Linked DNA regions of Homo sapiens: region 2 is linked to region 1. Evidence: promoter capture Hi-C in human tissues and cell types (Jung and others, 2019). All regions are on one chromosome and are shown on one strand. Each heading gives the region's core, a stretch centred on a gene start or on the middle of the fragment in contact. The rest is flanking DNA. Distances are from core to core; before and after follow the strand shown. Region 1 holds the start of CDKN1B (cyclin dependent kinase inhibitor 1B). Region 2 has its middle 100 kb from the start of ATF7IP.

Region 1 (3,932 bases), core at 1-2,500:
CCCTAGCCAGGAGGCGGACCGTTGATAAACATCCCAACTTTGTCACATACCTAGGAGTTGCTAGTGAGAGGGACCGCGATGTATTAAGTTAGGGAAATTATCGGATCTTACCATCTCCAGTTTCTGACTTAAAAGTCACAAACAGACAAGCAGTGGGCCAGGTAGCACTGAACACCTAAGACCAATAAAGTTAGCTCTCCCAAAGCTAAATCAGAATACGCCGAAAAGCAAGCTAAGGTTAACACCCTCCAGCAGGCAAAGCGGGGCCCCAAACACATTCTATGGTTGGGAAAGGGTCATTACCGTCGGTTGCAGGTCGCTTCCTTATTCCTGCGCATTGCTCCGCTAACCCCGTCTGGCTGTCCGACGGATCAGTCTTTGGGTCCACCAAATGCGTGTCCTCAGAGTTAGCCGGAGCCCCAATTAAAGGCGCCGCCGGGCGGCTCCCGCTGACATCCTGGCTCTCCTGCGCCGGCACCTTGCAGGCACCTTTGGGGGGCCGCGGGGGTCTGTAGTAGAACTCGGGCAAGCTGCCCTTCTCCACCTCTTGCCACTCGTACTTGCCCTCTAGGGGTTTGTGATTCTGAAAATCGAAATTCCACTTGCGCTGGCTCGCCTCTTCCATGTCTCTGCAGTGCTTCTCCAAGTCCCGGGTTAACTCTTCGTGGTCCACCGGGCCGAAGAGGTTCCTGCAGGCCGAGGGCTTGGGGTGCTCCGCCTGCCTGGCGTCCATCCGCTCCAGGCTAGGGCTCCCGTTAGACACTCGCACGTTTGACATCTTTCTCCCGGGTCTGCACGACCGCCTCTCTCGCACTCTCAAAAAAACAAAACCGAACAAAACAAAGCGCCCCTACGCAGCCCGAACCCCTCTCGGAAGCCCAGCGACTGCCCTCGGAGCCAAAAGACACAGACCCCGACGAGCCACGGCCCGAGCTCTAGGAGCGCGCAGGGGCTGCGGGGAAGCCCCGGCCCGGCCGCCGAGTCTCCGCTGATCAAATGGACTGGCGAGCGGGAGGGCGGAGAGGAGAGGGGACCAGGCAAGCGGAGAGGGTGGCAAAGCCCGTCCGAGTCTGGGCGGGTGCAAGCCCGCGGGTCCCGCGAACCCAGCCGCTCTCCAAACCTTGCCGGCGTCGGAGTCGCAGAGCCGTGAGCAAGCGGGGACAGGGGAGGGGGAGAAAAACACCCCGAAAAGACGAGCCCCCTTTTTTTAGTGGCCCAATATGGCGGTGGAAGGGAGGCTGACGAAGAAGAAAATGATTGACACGGCGAGTCTATTTAAACAGAGGAGGAGATCCATTGGTTGCGGCGGCGGGAGCCGCCCCGCCGAGGCTGGCGAGCGCGGCCTTAAGGTGGCCCCGGCGCGGTTCCGCCACCTCCCCTCGTTCCCGAGCGCGCCGCCTCCCCGAGCGCCGCCGGGAGATTGGCTGGTCGCGTGACTGCTGGAGGGGTACTGCTGCCAACAAACCTGCTCTGGCTGGCCTCGGAGAAATTAAAATTAAGACAAACAAACTAGCCAAACGGCCGGGAACCTGGGGCGGGGCCTGAGGTTCGGGGCCCGGCGCTGCGTTGGCGGGTTCGCCGCGGCGCCTAAGCCCCGACCTCCCTCCCGCTCCTCGCCCGGGAAGCCGGGACCTGGACCAGAGGACCGCGAAGGTCGCCGGCAGCTCGCTAGGAGCCGGGGTGGCGAGCTGCCCCCAGCTCGGCCCTCCCCAGCGGCCCCCACCTCGTGGTCTGCGGGGGAGGCCGCGGAGCGTTTGCTGGGGGGGCTGGGCGCCCCCCCGCCGGCGTGCCTTTGCTGGGGGCTGGTGGAGGCAGTGGGCAATGGTTCGCTCAGCCTTAACCCAGAAGTTTCTGCCATCCCTGGGGAGGCTGGGGGCCTAGGGAAGAAGCCAAAGCGAACGTCTTTCTTTTAGAAATTAGCCAGGAGTAGACGCGGCACTTATCATGAACTCAAGCTCTCCCTCAATGAAAATAAGAAAGGAACTCAAGATTAAAAAAAAAAAACAAAAAACTCTAGTCTCTCAAGTCCCTTAATAAACTTTGTAGCTGTCTCAGACACGTTTAGTTTTGAAAAACGAGGGTACACCCCTGGCCCAGGATCTTCCTTCCCAAGCACAGTTAAGGCCATGGACATTGGCTGCGTGTGGGAACTCGTCCCTTTCTACTTTTCTGTTCTTTCCCGGGATTGTAGCAGTTTCCTCTACCTGAGTCCAGCCGCCAAATACAACAGCTCCTTCCTTCCTCCACCCTTCTCTCTCACCAGATTTCACTGCTCCAACAAACTCAGAACAATATTCAGATGCTAGTGAATGCTTTCAGAGGGCTGAAGGGTGAAAATACTCCCCTCGGGGTCAAACTCCAGATGATGAAATGATTTTTAAAACACCACAACCATGTCCTAACGTCCGATACTAGTATTCCAGCGTTTCTCTTCTCCCTTTTGCAGCTGGAAATTTCTCTCTCAGTGTGGGCTTGAGCACCGTGGTGGAAGGTAAAGTAGGACGATGAGCAGGGCTGCCCTGAGACAAAGCTCAGTGGATCTTCAACTGCCTCCCCACCCCCATGCCCGGTACCCATCATCTTGGTTTGAGCCAAAGTTAATGCATTTTACTGGAAACCAACCTTCCGTTCTAATATTACACAGCAGCAAAGTTTTCTTAAGCACCTATGCTACAGATGAGCTTGATGTGTAGCTTGTTTTCTTAGCCACATCTTGTCCACTTTGTGTGCCTACCTCATCTCATACGCTCCAGAATGTGACAGCTGGAAGGGACCCTCGGGACCCTGTGGTTTAACCCTCTCCTTTTTACCACGGAGGAAATCGAGACTCAGAGAGGTTTCCTGTCCAGGGACATGCATTCGGTTGGTACCGGAGTCAGGACTAGATGCAAGTCTCCTAACACTCAGGTTGGTTCATTTTCTGTTCCTTTCCTTCCTAATGGTTCTCACTGGTTCAGGGTTTTGTCTGAGTTTGATTGTGCTGTAGTCTGCAGGTCCTGCTGTCTTACAAGTGACTGAAAATGGCTCCTTCCCAGGCCCTGGGTTGCCTGCAGATGTTTCCTTGATGTGGCCTGTGGTCACTGATATTTAAATGCAGCTGTCTTGAGCCTGTGGTATCACCATCCACTAGTTCAACTAAAATTGAAGGACAGGGGTTGATACCCAGAGAACAGTAAAGGGGGCAGTGCCCAGAACTAGTTTTCAAGTCAGGACTTCCTACCTAACTGACAGAAAAGAATTCACCTAGGATCAAGCAAGAGGTCTCATCCTCTTTAGTTTTTCTACTTTTAAGGCTGTCAATTTATTGGACTGCAGACTGGGGGAAAAGGAACAGGAAAATTAGGGTAGGCCTCCCTACCATAATTTATACCTTACCCTAGAAATTAGATAATTGTCCAAATTTTAAAACAATTGCTAGACAACACAGGAACTCTATATATGTGCATCTATCCATATGCATAAACACCCAAACTACCACATGTATGTAAATGGAGACATTCTAGAGTAGTTCACCTTGCCACAGAAGTTTGATTTTACTCATGGAATTCATGTCTTATATGGAAGTGGAAAATAAACACTTCGATCCCCTTCACATGCTGAATCTTTCAACTAATATGTAGGAGCACCATTTTGTCGCTTTGTTGTTGTTGATCTCGAAAAGTAAGCAAGTCACAGTCACACCACCTTAAGAAGTCTGGCTGCCAGCAGAAAGGCTGTGCTTACATCGACCTCACAATGATCTAAAGTGTTTTGTTTACAGTCAAGGCACCGGAGATCTGTACAGCAAATAATGAGAACGCAGGCGTCTGCTGTAGTAGCGACGACGCGTGAAAAAAAATACTATGGAGTCCCTGAAGGAACAGGGAGCGTAGAGATCAGAGCGCCATCCTTCTGCAAAGTGGGCAGCTGCAAGCGAGTAAGCCAGGGGGAAA
Region 2 (3,932 bases), core at 726-3,225, 1.5 Mb before region 1:
ATTTGCCAGGCATGGTGTTGTGTGCCTGCAGTCCCAGTTACTTGAGAGCCTTAGGTGGGAGGATCCCTTAAACCAGGAGTTTGAGGCTGCTGTAAAGTATGATCACACCACTACACTCCAGCCTGGGTGACAGACTCTGTCTCAAAAATAAATAAATAAATATATCAATAAATAAAAGCATTATTAACTCATTTGTGAATTGAAATTATCATCACCAACCGTACCCTATTTTACAGATGAGAAAACTAAGGCACAAAAAAATTATTTAAAACGTATCTGGTGGCTGGGCACAGTGGCTCACGCCTATAATCTCAGCACTTTGGGAGGGTGGCTAATTTTGTATTTTTGGTAGAGACGGGGTTTCTCCATGTTGGTCAGGCTGGTCTTGAACTTCCGACCTCAGATGATCCGCCAGCCTCGGCCCCACAAAGTGCTGGGATTACAGGCATGAGCCACCACGCCCGGCCACACCAAAGGTTTTTTAAAATCAACAAATTATTTGGAAATTATTTGAATAATTTTTTAAAAATTGCACAAAACTTATATGGTAAGCAGTTTTATACATACACATACATATATAACTGTATATGTAATTGAATAAGCAGTTTTATACATATATAATTTAAATAATTTAGAAATGGAGATTATATTTTTCAAATGTTTACATTTATATATTGATATCTAGGTTAATTTACAATATGTATTGTGGGTTAGATACGTTGATTTCATTCCCTACAGGAAATATCAGCAAACCTCATTCAAACAGACTGAAATGGTAAGGGAAGAAATTTACTTTTTTTCACATAACTAAGTAGTCCAGCGTAGGTTCCAGGCATGGTAAGATCAGTGGCTCAGTGATGTCATCAAAATTCTTTCCATGTCTGTTCTGCTTTCCTCTCTGTTAGGGTTTACCCTTAGGCTAGATCCTCCTGTTACTCAATATGGCAACAGCACTTCCTGCTGTTACATCTGTGGTGGTTTACAATATGTCCACAAATTCCTTAATATTCCTCCTTCCCTGCAAAAGTGCAGCCTAATTCCCCTCCTCCTAAATGTGGGCTAGACTTAATGACTTCCTTTAATGAATAAAATGAAGTCGAAATGATGGTGTGTTGTTCCTAAAATTAGGACATAAAATATAATGGTTTCCTCCTGTTCTTTTTGTTGGGATCACTCTGGGGAAAGCCAGCTACTACGACAGGAGGACATTCAAGTAACCCCATGGAGTGGATCACAGGGTAAGTAACTGTGGTCTTCTACTAAGAGCCAGCAATGAACTGAGAACTTATGCCAACAGCCATATAAGCCATCTTGGAAGTATATTCCCTAACCCCAGTCAAGCCTTCAGATGAATGCAGCCCTGGCAAATGTCTGGAATGGAACCTCATGTGAGAATCTGAGCCAGAACTGTCCAGCTCAGCTGCTCCTGAATTCCTGACTCACAGAACCGTGAGATAATAAAATAATTGTCATAAAAACATCCAGAGGGAGAAAGGCACATCCTTTCTCTCTCTCTCTGAGAAACTGCTGAGACTTCCTGGCAAACTTACTAAACCAGTTAGTGATTAGGAACTAATATTACCATGATTCTTATACTGAACCACCCTGTGGAGCTGGAGCTGGAGTCAGTGTCTTCTGAAGCCTAGGACTGTGTAGAAGACACAGCTTCTGATGGGAAGAAATGAGGGTACAGAAACAGATATCGACAGGTGACTAATCAAGCTAATTTAGGTTGTACTGTATAACAAATATCCACCAATTCTCTCAATGGCTTAACACACCAAAAGTTTGTTTCTTCCTCATACTACATGTCTAATGTGCCTTGGCAAGGAGATCTTGGCTCAAAGAGGTTTCAACTCAACACTTGCTTCCTTGATCTCTCAAACAGTGACAAATTGTTTATTAGATCTGAAAGCTTTTTCCTGGAAGTTACACATATCATATTACCTCCTCTTTTACCTTATTGACAGAAGGTCTAATTTCAAAGAGGTCAGGTCATACAATATTACATTGTGACCAGAAACTGAAATTTTTTTTTTTTTTTTGAGACAAGAGTCTCCGTCTGTCGCTCAGGCTGGAGTGTAGTGGCACGATCTCAGCTCACTACAACCTCTGCCTCCAGGGTTCAAGTGACTCCTGCCTCAGCCTCCTGAGTAGCTGGGACTACAGGCGTGCGCCACCACACCCGACTGATTTTTGTAGTTTTTAGTAGAGATGGGGTTTCACCATATTGGCCAGGCTGGTCTCAAACTCCTGACCTCATGATCCCCCCGCCTCAGCCACCCAAAGTGCTGAGATTACAAGCGTGAGCCACTGTGCCCGGTCCGAAAACTGAAATATTTTAACATCACTGATGAGTACCAGCAAGGGAAAATCAGGGTCTGGATCTGGGTGTGGTGGCTCACGCCTGTCATCCCAGCACATTGAGAGGCTGAAGCAGGTGGATAGCTTGAGCCAGGGCAACATGGCGAGACCCTGTCTCTACCCAAAAAATAGAAAAATTACCCAGGCATGGTGGCACATACCTGTAGTCCCAGCTACTGTGGAGGCTGAGGTGGGAAGATTACTTAAGCCTGAGAGGCAACGGCAGTGAGTTGTGATTACACCACTGCACTCCAGCCTGGGCAACAGAGCCAGATCCTGTCTCAAAAAAAAAGAAAAAAAGAAAAGAAAATCAGGGTCTGGAAAACGTGCTTACTAAGGGACTCGAAATTGGGATGTTACAACAGCAACAAACTTTCTCTACTTCAGCCCCTACAAGTCCCCGTATCTTTTAAGGAATCTCTCTTTCTTCTTTGCCCTTTAAGAGTCAAAGTGGTTAAATAGATTGGATGTTAGGGTATGTGGCACAGGGATAAATCCTAACTTAATTGCTGCTAGATCTTAGCCTAGCATGTGTGAACAGGTCTTAGCAGACTACTTGAAAACTTTAGTGAAAACATTAGTACTGACTCATGATCATGTATCTAATAATTACTCTTCTAATATTAGGTCCAGTAATGTGTAGTTTTGCTAAGAAATCTAAAGTTATAAATAACATGTTGAAATTTTAAAGTGCTTTGGATGTTGAAATCTGCATGTCAATAGCTCACCTTTTCTCAGGGTTTTCGTGCTAGTAGCTTAGTTATTATCCTGATAGGATGTTTGGAAGTTTCTGGGTAAGGAAACAGATCTGTTCTTCTGCTGGGCTAGTCCACCTGTTTCAGGTCCTGAAAAGCTACTGACCTAGTGGACTTCAGACTCCTTGCTTTGTCTTAGCGTTTGAGTTCTTTTAATTCTGGCTGGTAGCTGACCTGTTTGTTAATACATCTGGAATGAAAAGTCTGTTTTTCTAGCCAGGCGCGGTGGCTCACGCCTGTAATCCCAGCGCTTTGGGAGGCCGAGGTGGGCGAATCATGAGGTCAGGAGTTTAAGACCAGCCTGGCCAACATGGTGAAACCCCGTCTCTACTAAAAATACAAAAAATTAGCTGGGCATAGTGGTGAGTGCCTGTAATCCCAGCTACTCGGGAGGCTGAGCAGGAGAATCTCTTAAACCTGGGAGACAGAGGTTGCAGTAAGCCGAGATTGGCGCCACTGCACTCCAGCCTGGTGACAGAGTGAGACTCTGTCTAAAAAAAAAGAAAGAAAATTCTGTTTTTCTGACTGCTAGCTCTGGTTTTATTCTAGCTAACTCCATCTCATTTCTCAGCTCTTTCTGAGAAACTCACTGGCTATATCTCACTCCACTCAACCTTACTGTTTTTCATGTCCCTCCTCTTTTCTCCCATATCACATCCTCTTTTTCCTATCCTTATAAAGGATATGCCATGTCACTCTGGAATAGCTGACTTCCTGTGTATCTTCCCAGCCTGTAAGCTCTTTGAAAGTACATTCCACGCTTTATGTGATTTTTAAAACTCACAAGCCCAGCGTAGCCAATAGTACCATATT

What was found. The method cuts DNA at HindIII sites, captures the fragments that hold promoters and counts their contacts. A contact is called where the count stands out against the background at its distance.
Region 2: a contact is called between a fragment that was not itself captured here and the fragment with the promoter of CDKN1B in region 1, in 1 of the 25 tissues and cell types used here (psoas muscle).

The regions. Positions count from the first base shown.
Region 1 is chr12:12,714,686-12,718,617 of GRCh38, reverse strand. CDKN1B (cyclin dependent kinase inhibitor 1B) reads right to left here and starts at 1,250. Exons shown (of 3, transcript NM_004064.5): 1 at 304-1,250. The coding sequence starts at 778. It also overlaps a transcript of GPR19 not described here. RefSeq lists silencers at 684-872, 1,297-1,866 and enhancers at 1,047-1,146, 1,227-1,276, 3,533-3,612, 3,623-3,672, 3,793-3,922. The HindIII fragment of the contact is 13,879 bases long and covers 1-3,932 here.
Region 2 is chr12:14,261,955-14,265,886 of GRCh38, reverse strand. No RefSeq gene overlaps it. Among named protein-coding and RNA genes, the nearest start is that of ATF7IP, 100 kb to the left of the region's middle. The HindIII fragment of the contact is 3,925 bases long and covers 13-3,932 here.